Regions from separate parts of the Homo sapiens genome. Here regions 2 and 3 are each linked to region 1. The links are contacts of gene promoters, found by promoter capture Hi-C in blood cells and fetal thymus (Javierre and others, 2016). All regions are on one chromosome and are shown on one strand. The core of a region is centred on a gene start or on the middle of the fragment in contact, and the rest is flanking DNA. Distances in the headings are between cores, read along the strand shown.

Region 1 (3,046 bases), core at 171-2,670:
GGTAGAGAAGGGGGTGTGGCAGGACCTCAGAGGGAGGGGTAGAGCCTCGGAGAATAGAAAGTAAGGTGTTTGAATTTGATTGAGTCAAGGGAAGGCACTGGAAGGTTTTTTAAAGCGCCATCTTCTTTTGGTTTTCTCTTGGCAGCCTGGATTCTGAGCATGCAACATTCGACTCTAACAAGGCTGACTCTGGTTCAACCAGGCTGTGTGGATGAAATCTACGACCTCCCCAAGCATTTGAAGTTCATGTTTTCTTTTTCTTTTGAGATGGAATCTTGCTCTGTTGCCCAGGCTGGAGTGCAGTGGCGCGATCTCGGCTCACCACAACCTCCGCCTCCCGGGTTCAAGCGATTCTCCTGCCTCAACCTCCCAAGTAGCTGGGATTACAGGTCTGCGCCACTGCGCCGGGACTAATTTTTGTATTTTTTAGCAGAGACTGGGTTTCGCCATGTTGGCCAGGCTGGTCTTGAACCCCTGACCTCAGATGATCCGCCCGCCTCGGCCTCGCAAAGTGCTGGGATTACGGGCGTGAGCCACCGCGCCTGGCCTGAAGTTCTTTTCTACAGAACTTTGCTGTCCTATATACATGAGGGTACACAGCCAACTGGGCACCTGGCACGGGTCTAGTCCAAATTGAGATGGGCTGTTAACTCTAAAACACACACTGGATTTCCAAGACTTAGAACCAACGACAGAGCGTAAAAGATCTAATTAATTCTTTTAGACTGATTACATGCTGAAATGACAGGATGGGCTAAATTAAACACATTAAAAGCAGTTTCACCGATTTCTCTTTACTCTTTAAAAATGTGGCTGCTATTAGAATTACCTACGTGGCTTGGACTGTGTGTCTACAGGGAGCTCCTCTCGCGCACTCTGTGCACTCAAATTCCGCCGGTGTCCTCCGCCGGAAGGGCCGCCTCAGAAAGGCCGAGCCCCCGGCCTGGCTTCTCCGGTTTCCCGGGAAAGCGTTGCAACCACGGGCGAGGGCTCCGAGGTCGGCCCCGAGGGGTAAGGGCAGCCCTTGCCTTCGCGACATCCATTCACCCGGCTCCGCAGGTGCAGCGCGCGGTCCTCAGAGAAACCCCGACCCTCGCGTCGCTGACCCGACCATTCATTAATCGGGGGCTTCCCAGGGCCCAGGAGCAGCCTCGGGCGCCCCACTCCCCCATTCTCGCGTAGCCGTCCCCTTGACCGCGTCACACCGAGCGGCACAACCACCAGGGAAGGTAACTGGGAGGGCGCGACCTCCCTCAATCAACAGCCACCTCGGGCTGACTGAGCGGACCCAGGTCCCTTTCAGCCACAGCGTTCCCTCGGCTTCCTGGGCCTCACGGCGGCGGAGGCGTGGCCACAGCCTGAGAGGCGGGTTTCCTGTCCAGTTGTGAATAACTTCCGACGTGTGCCGGAAGTTTCCTCAGTGACAATCAGGAAGTCGGCGTGTCGAGTGGCTCTTCCTGGCTGCTGAGGCGGGTTAAGGTCTGAGGGTCTTGTGGGGCCACGGCGCTGATCACCAGGTGTTTGGCTTGGTCGGTTCTTATTTCTCGCCTGGCAATGGCGACGTACACCTGCATAACTTGCCGGGTGGCGTTCCGCGACGCGGACATGCAGCGGGCCCACTATAAGACGGACTGGCACCGCTACAACCTGCGGCGGAAGGTGGCCAGCATGGCCCCAGTGACCGCCGAGGGCTTCCAGGAGCGAGTGCGGGCGCAGCGGGCCGTCGCGGAGGAGGAGAGCAAGGGCTCGGCCACCTACTGCACCGTTTGCAGTAAGAAGTTTGCCTCTTTCAACGCCTACGAGAACCACCTCAAGTCCCGGCGTCACGTTGAGCTGGAGAAGAAGGCCGTGCAGGCAGTGAATCGGAAAGTGGAGATGATGAATGAAAAGAACTTGGAGAAAGGACTGGGCGTGGACAGTGTGGACAAGGATGCCATGAACGCGGCCATCCAGCAGGCCATCAAGGCCCAGCCGTCCATGTCTCCCAAGAAGGCGCCCCCAGCGCCTGCAAAGGAGGCCAGGAATGTCGTGGCCGTGGGTACTGGTGGCCGTGGGACCCACGACCGAGACCCGAGTGAGAAACCACCCCGGCTCCAGTGGTTTGAACAGCAGGCGAAGAAGTTGGCAAAGCAGCAGGAGGAGGACAGCGAGGAGGAGGAAGAGGACCTGGATGGAGACGGTGATGGCCCTGTCTGGGCGGGGAGGGTAAAGAGGAACTTGGCCCACCCTTAAGTTTCCAGATTTATACTCGAGATGGGTGTGTGTGTGTGTTTGAGAGCTTTTAAGTAAAAATGATGAGGGAAGGTGGTTTAGACGCTTTCTGAAGTGCCTTATCTGGCCAGCAGGTTTGGCTGTTTAGTTCACTCAATTCATTCTCCAAGGCCTAAAACCTTGTCTGGAAAAAGAAGTGCTTAATGCATATTTGGAGAATGAATTGATGCCTTCTGTGTTTTGGATGAAGAGGCTTTTAACATATGCACAGGAGGACATGCTATCGTCATACCAGCTGCCGTGTAATTTGCGATTCTAGTGGGTTTCCAGTTATGATGGTTTTGCACTTAATTTAGTTGAGTAAAACAGAATGAGGGGATCAAAACCAACTCAGCCAGAAATTTGGAGCTGGAGCCAGCACCCTCACCTCTTTGCCTTTATGAGCTATTTATTCCTTACTTCCCTCATCCCACATCCTATTAACAGTGCTGGTGTAGGTGTTCATGTCTTAGTCTGTCCACTCTGCTATAAGGAAGTACTAGAGACTGGGTGATTTATGAACAACATAAATGTATTTTCCCATAGTTCTGGAAATTGGGAAGTCCAAAATCAAGGTGCTGGCAGAGTCAGTGTCTGGTGAGGGCCTGTTCTATAGATGAAGTTTTCTCATGGTGTCATCATGTGGTGGAAGAAGCAGAAGGCAAAAAAGGGGCTAGCCAGTTCCCTCGCACTAATCCATTTATTCAGGATTAGTGCTTGCCTAACCTAATCACCCACTAAAGGCCCCACCTCTTAATGCCATTTCATTGATGATTAAGTTTCAACATTTGAATTT
Region 2 (3,046 bases), core at 236-2,735, 470 kb before region 1:
AAAGGATGGACTGCTGTTTAGTTAAGCATGAAAGGACTTTAGAATTGTCAGTTATTAACTTCTAATTTGTGTGAAAGAAACTTTGAGAACTTTCCCTTTCTATAACTAGTAATTAAGCCATTATTCTAACAGGGGCAATTAAGGGGTGAGTGTTTAATAAAAAAAAAAGATAATGGAAAAGACTCTACGCCCCAAGACACATCAAGACAAGGAATGGCAGCAGCAGCAACAACAAAAGGAACTCAGTTTGAATTCACAAAGGAAATGAGACAACCCGTTTCAACTAAAAACGAACAAACTGTTGGTGGAGAACAAAAACAGAAGATTGTTATTACTTAACTCACAAATATACATATGCAACTCTCTCTTTCAGTGGGGAAATGATCCAATCAGTATTAAAATTTTGTTGATTGTAGATTAATGTATGCCACTAAATAAGATAACTTAACTTGAGCTTTTGGGGGTGTTTTATTTTGAAAATGTCATACTCTGTTAGCCTGGTTTATTTGAAAGACAGGTAGGACAGAGAGTTGAGACAGACCTTTGCCTCATGGAAACACACTCATCCTTCTATTATTACCATTCTTGTGCCTCTGTCGCTTCTCAGAGGGCAGGGTTTAATAGATTTGGTCTAAACTGCTTTGTCCAGTGGTTAGCACAACTCTCTCAGAGGAAGCACTCAAATTTTAAGAAATGGTAATAAGACTAGATATTCTTAGAAATCTATTGATTTAAAATGCTTCCCAGTCTCTGTCCAATCCTGTCAAAGCCCTTATAAATTTAACACGCTGCTTTTTAACAACTGATTCAACCCCAGATACTTGAGGGTTAGATATCTTATTTAGAACATGCATTTTGCTGTTCAGCAAGTAAGAGTTTCGCTGCCACAGCTTATCTTACACCTTTTTGAGAATATGGGGATATATAGAAAAGCTGATGAATTCTGATAAAGTGGCGATTCCCAAGCTCTGAACTGGTTATCGGGGTGCTTATTAAAATGCAAATTCTTTCAATATAATCCACAGGTAAAGAAATAAAAAATGCAAATTCTTAGGAAATCAATTTGCCACAGAGATTTGGAGTCAGTTTTTTTTTCTTTTTAGCAACTGATAAGGTGATCTAGGGATCAACATTGATAAAACATTGATGTAAGTTTTTTTTTTTAACTTTCTTACCCTGTTAACTGATGATGTAAGCTTTTTGAAGAAATAAAATGATTCAGTAAAATCTAAACTTTATATATTGGATCTGGCTCACCATTCTTTACGTGAGTCAAATTGGGGGCAATTATTAACGATATCTTCATAATTGGCAGGAAAATCACCTTTAAAAGATTAGTAGACTTTAAAAAAACAGTTTTAGGCTTACATAAAAATTGGCCAGAAAGTACAGAGAGTGTCCATAGACCCCTCCCAGCCCCTCACCCTCACTTGCCCCTATTATTAACATGTTGCATTAGTGTGGTACATTTGTTATAACTGATGAGCCGATATGGAAAGTGACTTTTGAAATGACATGGCGAGGTTGCCCAACGTATCAGTGGCTGGGCTGATGCTGGGAACCACGTCACACCCACACACTCACTTCAACAATCTCCCTGGTAATTTCTCTGGCAGAGATGTTGTGTGCAGATTAATACCATAATGACTGTAATTGTTCTGCTCCAGTATCTGAACACCAGTGGTTGCAGGACCCATTTGACTAAGCACTGGGATTGTTGGTATTTATCCTGACTCCATCTTCACTTTCCTTGCGACCTTGGACACAAGCTTTAATGGCTCAGCGCCTTAAGCGTGTAAACCTGTGAAACAGAACAACATTGCACAATATCATTAACTAATTTACACCTTGACTCTTTCTAAAGGGAAGTGAGGTGGGAGCAATGATATTAATGGTGAAGAACTGGACTGGGATAAGTTACAAACATGCTTGACTTTCCCCATAAGGATTACAGAAGGATGTTTCATTCATTCATTCATGCTGTGAGACAGCCTGGGGATACTCATCTTAAAGCACAGTCCTTCCCCAACAGTCTTAGGAATAAATCCTAGAGTGGGCATCTAGCCCAGTGGTTACGGGGAGCTTGGGTGGGGTGAGTGGAGTAGCATCTTTGGGAAGGGTTCCTTCCCCTGGAAGGTGTGACTTTGTGAGCTGAGTTTTAAAGGTTGAGTAGCAGTTGGCAAATTCCCTGGAGAGAGCATCTCAAATCTTTTGTGCTGAAGAACCAGCCATTTTTGTTCCCAGTCGGCCAGGTACCAATACACTGCGGCGCCAGGTGTGACTCACCACGTGAGTCTGACAACACCCAAACTGGTTTATACTCGGTTCAAAGAGTCCACTGATCATGTGCTTGGATGTCGTGGCATTATTAAATTGCTACAAACGTTTACTCTTAATTTCTCTACTTGTTACAAGCTTTCGTTCAGCACAGGACCAGGTAGCACCTGAGGGGCACCTGGAAAGCAGATTGTTCCAGCCTGCGTTCTAACAAGGTTCCCAGGTGACCCTCGCACAGCATAAAGTTAAAAGAACTGCCCTAGGGGAAACGGGACTCAGTGCCAGGTGGGTTTGATCATTCGTCCATCTCAGTGCCATCTGCCATCTCTGCTTCCTTGAGGTCTAGAAAAGGGTTACATTTTTAAAGGTGATATTGGCCACGTCCCCTTCCAGTTTCAAAACTACATTTCCCCGCTGTTACGCAAACGTCTTAAGCAAACCCGACTGCAGGACAGAAAGTCAACACGGGAATGCAGCTTCCAGAAATTCTGATTAGCCTCCGTCTTCCGCTTTGATCTGGCCCCGCAGCCCCGGCAGCTCCGCTGACCGCGCTTCCTTCCCGAGATTGCTAGTCTACCGGGCTGCATTAATGAGATCCGTGTTGAGCCGGTTCCCGGGTCTGCTAAACATGAAAGGCACAGAAGCCCCCAGTCCCTTCTCCTCCCCTCTAAGTGATTGTTTAGTCTCTCTCTGCAGAGGGAAGAGTTAAATCCCCTCCCCACGCCTACGTGGGAAGACCTGGGGAAACACGCGGCCCCCTCCCGGGTCC
Region 3 (3,046 bases), core at 164-2,663, 290 kb before region 1:
TACAGAACTTTTTAAATAATAACTAATATCAATATATATGATATGCCAGGTAGCATGCTTTCTGCCTTTTACATGCATGTTCTCCTTTCATTCTCACCTGGCATTAGGGGATAAATTAAAAAATTATCTCCATTTTCCAGATGAAAAAACTGAGGCTTAGAGAGAGATGAAACATCTTGCCCAAGCAACACAGCTGGGAAGTGGGGAGACAGGATTTGAACCATCGCCTGCCTCACCCTGTAATTAGTGTTCCCCAGGAGCACCTTTCCATCCGTTAACTGCTTCAATCTTTGCAACACTGCAAGATGGCAAAACTAATAACTCACTTTTGCAAGTGAGGAGACCGAGGCTACAGAGGCTTAGATGGCATTCCAGAAAGCACAGAGCTCCTAAGTGGGATTCCACCCTTTGTCACTGTCATGCCAGTCCCCTTCTCTGCAAGACTCTGGTCTCTGACACTGCCACGTGTTTTCAGTGCCTAAAGCTCTTTGGCAGTGTTTGGTTTGAAATCTTTGGAAGCTGTCTTAGTTCTTCCAGGCCTAGGGTGTATTACTTTGAATTATCATTGAGAAAGGGCACCATTAATTACAATAATCTTGCACCTAATAATGGGTGTGTGTGCCTCACTGACCTCCTGCTCTTGCCTCACACAGATTTGACTTTATCTACGATCTTTTTGAACATGTTTCAAGCCGCAACAACCAGGATACCTTGAAATGTGGAAGCAAACATCGGCGGCCTACAGTCAGCTCACAGTTCAAGGTTCGTTTTCACTGCTGGCTTAGAGGAATCCGTCGTTACTGTATTTTTAAGAACTGAAAAGAGGATTTGGGTGTATGTGAAGTCTATGAGAATATTTGTTTATTTTTGTTTCCTTTTATATCATGCTTTTAAACCAGATAGTGCTTTAGAAATAAAATAGAGTTTTGGCTCACGCCTGTATTCTCAGCACTTTGGGAGGCCGAGGTGGGCAGATCACCTGAGCTCAGGGGTTCAAAACCAGCCGGGGCAACATGGTGAAATCCTGTCTCTACAAAAAATACAGAAATTATCTGGGTGCGGTGGCGCATGCCTGTAGTCCCAGCTACTCAGGAGGCTGAGGTGGGAGGATTGCCTGAGCCTGGGAGATCAAGATTGCAGAGAGCTGTGATTGCACCACTGCACTCCAGCCTGGGTGACAGCGTAAGACCTAGACTCTGTCTAAAAAAAGAGAGAAAAGAAATAAAATAGACTTTTTCTCTGAGTCAGATGAAAACATGTAGATCCTTTTTAAAAAAATAAATGGCTATTTCTTCTAAGCTTTTGAAATAGCAAACTCCTTAAGGCCATTTGGGACCACTCTGATTTGTATTTAGAGACTCATGTGGAAATGGGATATATTTCTTCTCATATCTGGATGTTTTTTCCCCCTGGTTAGATGAGACTGATGTCAGTTACCTTGTCCTAGGCTCTTAATCTTCCAGCAGAGGTTTTCAGTTTTCTTTTTCTAGAAGGTCGGTTTGCCAGGACTTCTCTGAGAAAGCTTTTTTTTTTTCCGTGTGTGTGTGTGTGTGTGTGTGTGTGCGTGTGTGTGTGTGTTTGTGTGTGTGTGAGACAGGGTCTTGTTCTGTCACCCAGACTGGAGTGCAGTGGTGTAATCACGCCTCACTGCAGCCTCAAACTCCCAGGCGCAAGTGATTCTCCCCCCTCAGCCTCCTGAGTAGCTGGCACTACAGGTGTAAGCCACTACACCCGACTTTTTTTTTTTTTTTTTTTTTTTTAAAGGCAGAGTCTCGCTCTGTCACCCAGGCTGGAATGCAATGGCACGATCTCAGCTCACTGCAACCTCTACCTCCCAGATTCAAGAGATTCTTCTGCCTCAGCCTCCCAAGTAGCTGGGACTAGAGGCATGCGCCATTACGCATGGCTAATTTTTCATACCCGGCTAATTTTTAGATGTTTTACTGAGATGGGGTCTTATTATGTTGCCCAGGCTGATCTCAAAATTCTGGCCTCCAGCGATCCTCCTGCCTCAGCCTCCCAAAGTGCTGGAATTACAGACGTGAGCCACTGCACCCACCCTTGGGTTTTTGAAATGTTTGAGACTTTAAACTGGACTAGCAGTGAAGGAAATGGAAAAGGGTGGGTGAGCTTTCCAGGTGCAGGCGAAGGCAGGAGAAGAGCCCAGACACAGAGATGCAAGTCCTGTCTCTGAGGACTGTCAACAGACAGTAGAACACCAGCCGGACAGGACACCTCGTGAGAATTTAAGATGGTATCAAAATATGAAGGGCCGTGAATGTCAGGATGTTTTGTCTTGTGAGAAATTTTAAAGTTTTCTGAGCTGGAGAAGTAATTAATCCATGTAGTGTTCAGACAGTTCAGTTTTCTTCAACAAGATTATGAGAAGAAAAAAGAGACAGATGGAGGGAAAGCCAGTGGATTAAAAGAGACTGAAAAGATGCATCCACCAATTACAATGAATGGACCATATTTGCATTTTGATGCAAAAGAACAAACCCTTTAAAATTTATGGGCTGGGCATGGTGACACATGCCTGTAATCCCAGCACTTTAGGAGGCCTAGGTGGAAAGATTGCTTGAGTCGAGGAGTTCGAGACCAGCCTGGGCAACATAGCGAGGCCTCATCTCTACAAAAAAAATTAAAAAGTTATTCGGCATGCCCTTGTATTCCCAGCTACTCAGGAGGCTGAGGTAGGAGGATCACTTGAGTCTGGAAGGTTGAAGCTGCCGTGAGCTGTGATCACACCACTGTACTCCAGCCTGGGTGGCAGAATGAGACCCTGTCTCAAATAAATAAATAAATAATAAAATTTTTAAAAATCATAAAATTTGAAGCAGTTGAGCATTTTAATATGAAATGTGAGACCATTGCACATTTTAATATTAGTTTAAGGAATTAATGTCATCTTTTCAGGTGTGATGATGCTGTGGTTACACAGTGCTTTAAAGTGTTTAGCCTTTAATCCTACATACTGAAATGCTGCTGGAGGAAATCACATCATGTCTGGGATTTGCTTTTCCACAGGGGTGGGTATAGTATGTGT

The links. The method cuts DNA at HindIII sites, captures the fragments that hold promoters and counts their contacts. A CHiCAGO score of 5 or more calls a contact.
Region 2: a contact is called between a fragment that was not itself captured here and the fragment with the promoter of ZNF622 in region 1, in 1 of 17 cell types (fetal thymus). The highest score is 5.6, in fetal thymus.
Region 3: a fragment that was not itself captured here is called in contact with the fragment with the promoter of ZNF622 in region 1 in 4 of 17 cell types (non-activated CD4 T cells, naive CD8 T cells, naive CD4 T cells and 1 more); the score reaches 7.0 in non-activated CD4 T cells.

What each region holds. Positions count from the first base shown.
Region 1 is chr5:16,464,174-16,467,219 of GRCh38, reverse strand. ZNF622 (zinc finger protein 622) reads left to right here and starts at 1,420. Exons shown (of 6, transcript NM_033414.3): 1 at 1,420-2,179. The coding sequence starts at 1,555. RefSeq lists a silencer at 13-235 and an enhancer at 2,043-2,112. The HindIII fragment of the contact is 4,211 bases long and covers 1-3,046 here.
Region 2 is chr5:16,936,492-16,939,537 of GRCh38, reverse strand. No RefSeq gene overlaps it. Among named protein-coding and RNA genes, the nearest start is that of MYO10, 1.7 kb to the right of the region's middle. The HindIII fragment of the contact is 573 bases long and covers 1,199-1,771 here.
Region 3 is chr5:16,755,834-16,758,879 of GRCh38, reverse strand. MYO10 (myosin X) reads left to right here. Exons shown (of 41, transcript NM_012334.3): 18 at 654-762. Among named protein-coding and RNA genes, the nearest start is that of RETREG1, 140 kb to the right of the region's middle. RefSeq lists an enhancer at 3,040-3,046. The HindIII fragment of the contact is 223 bases long and covers 1,302-1,524 here.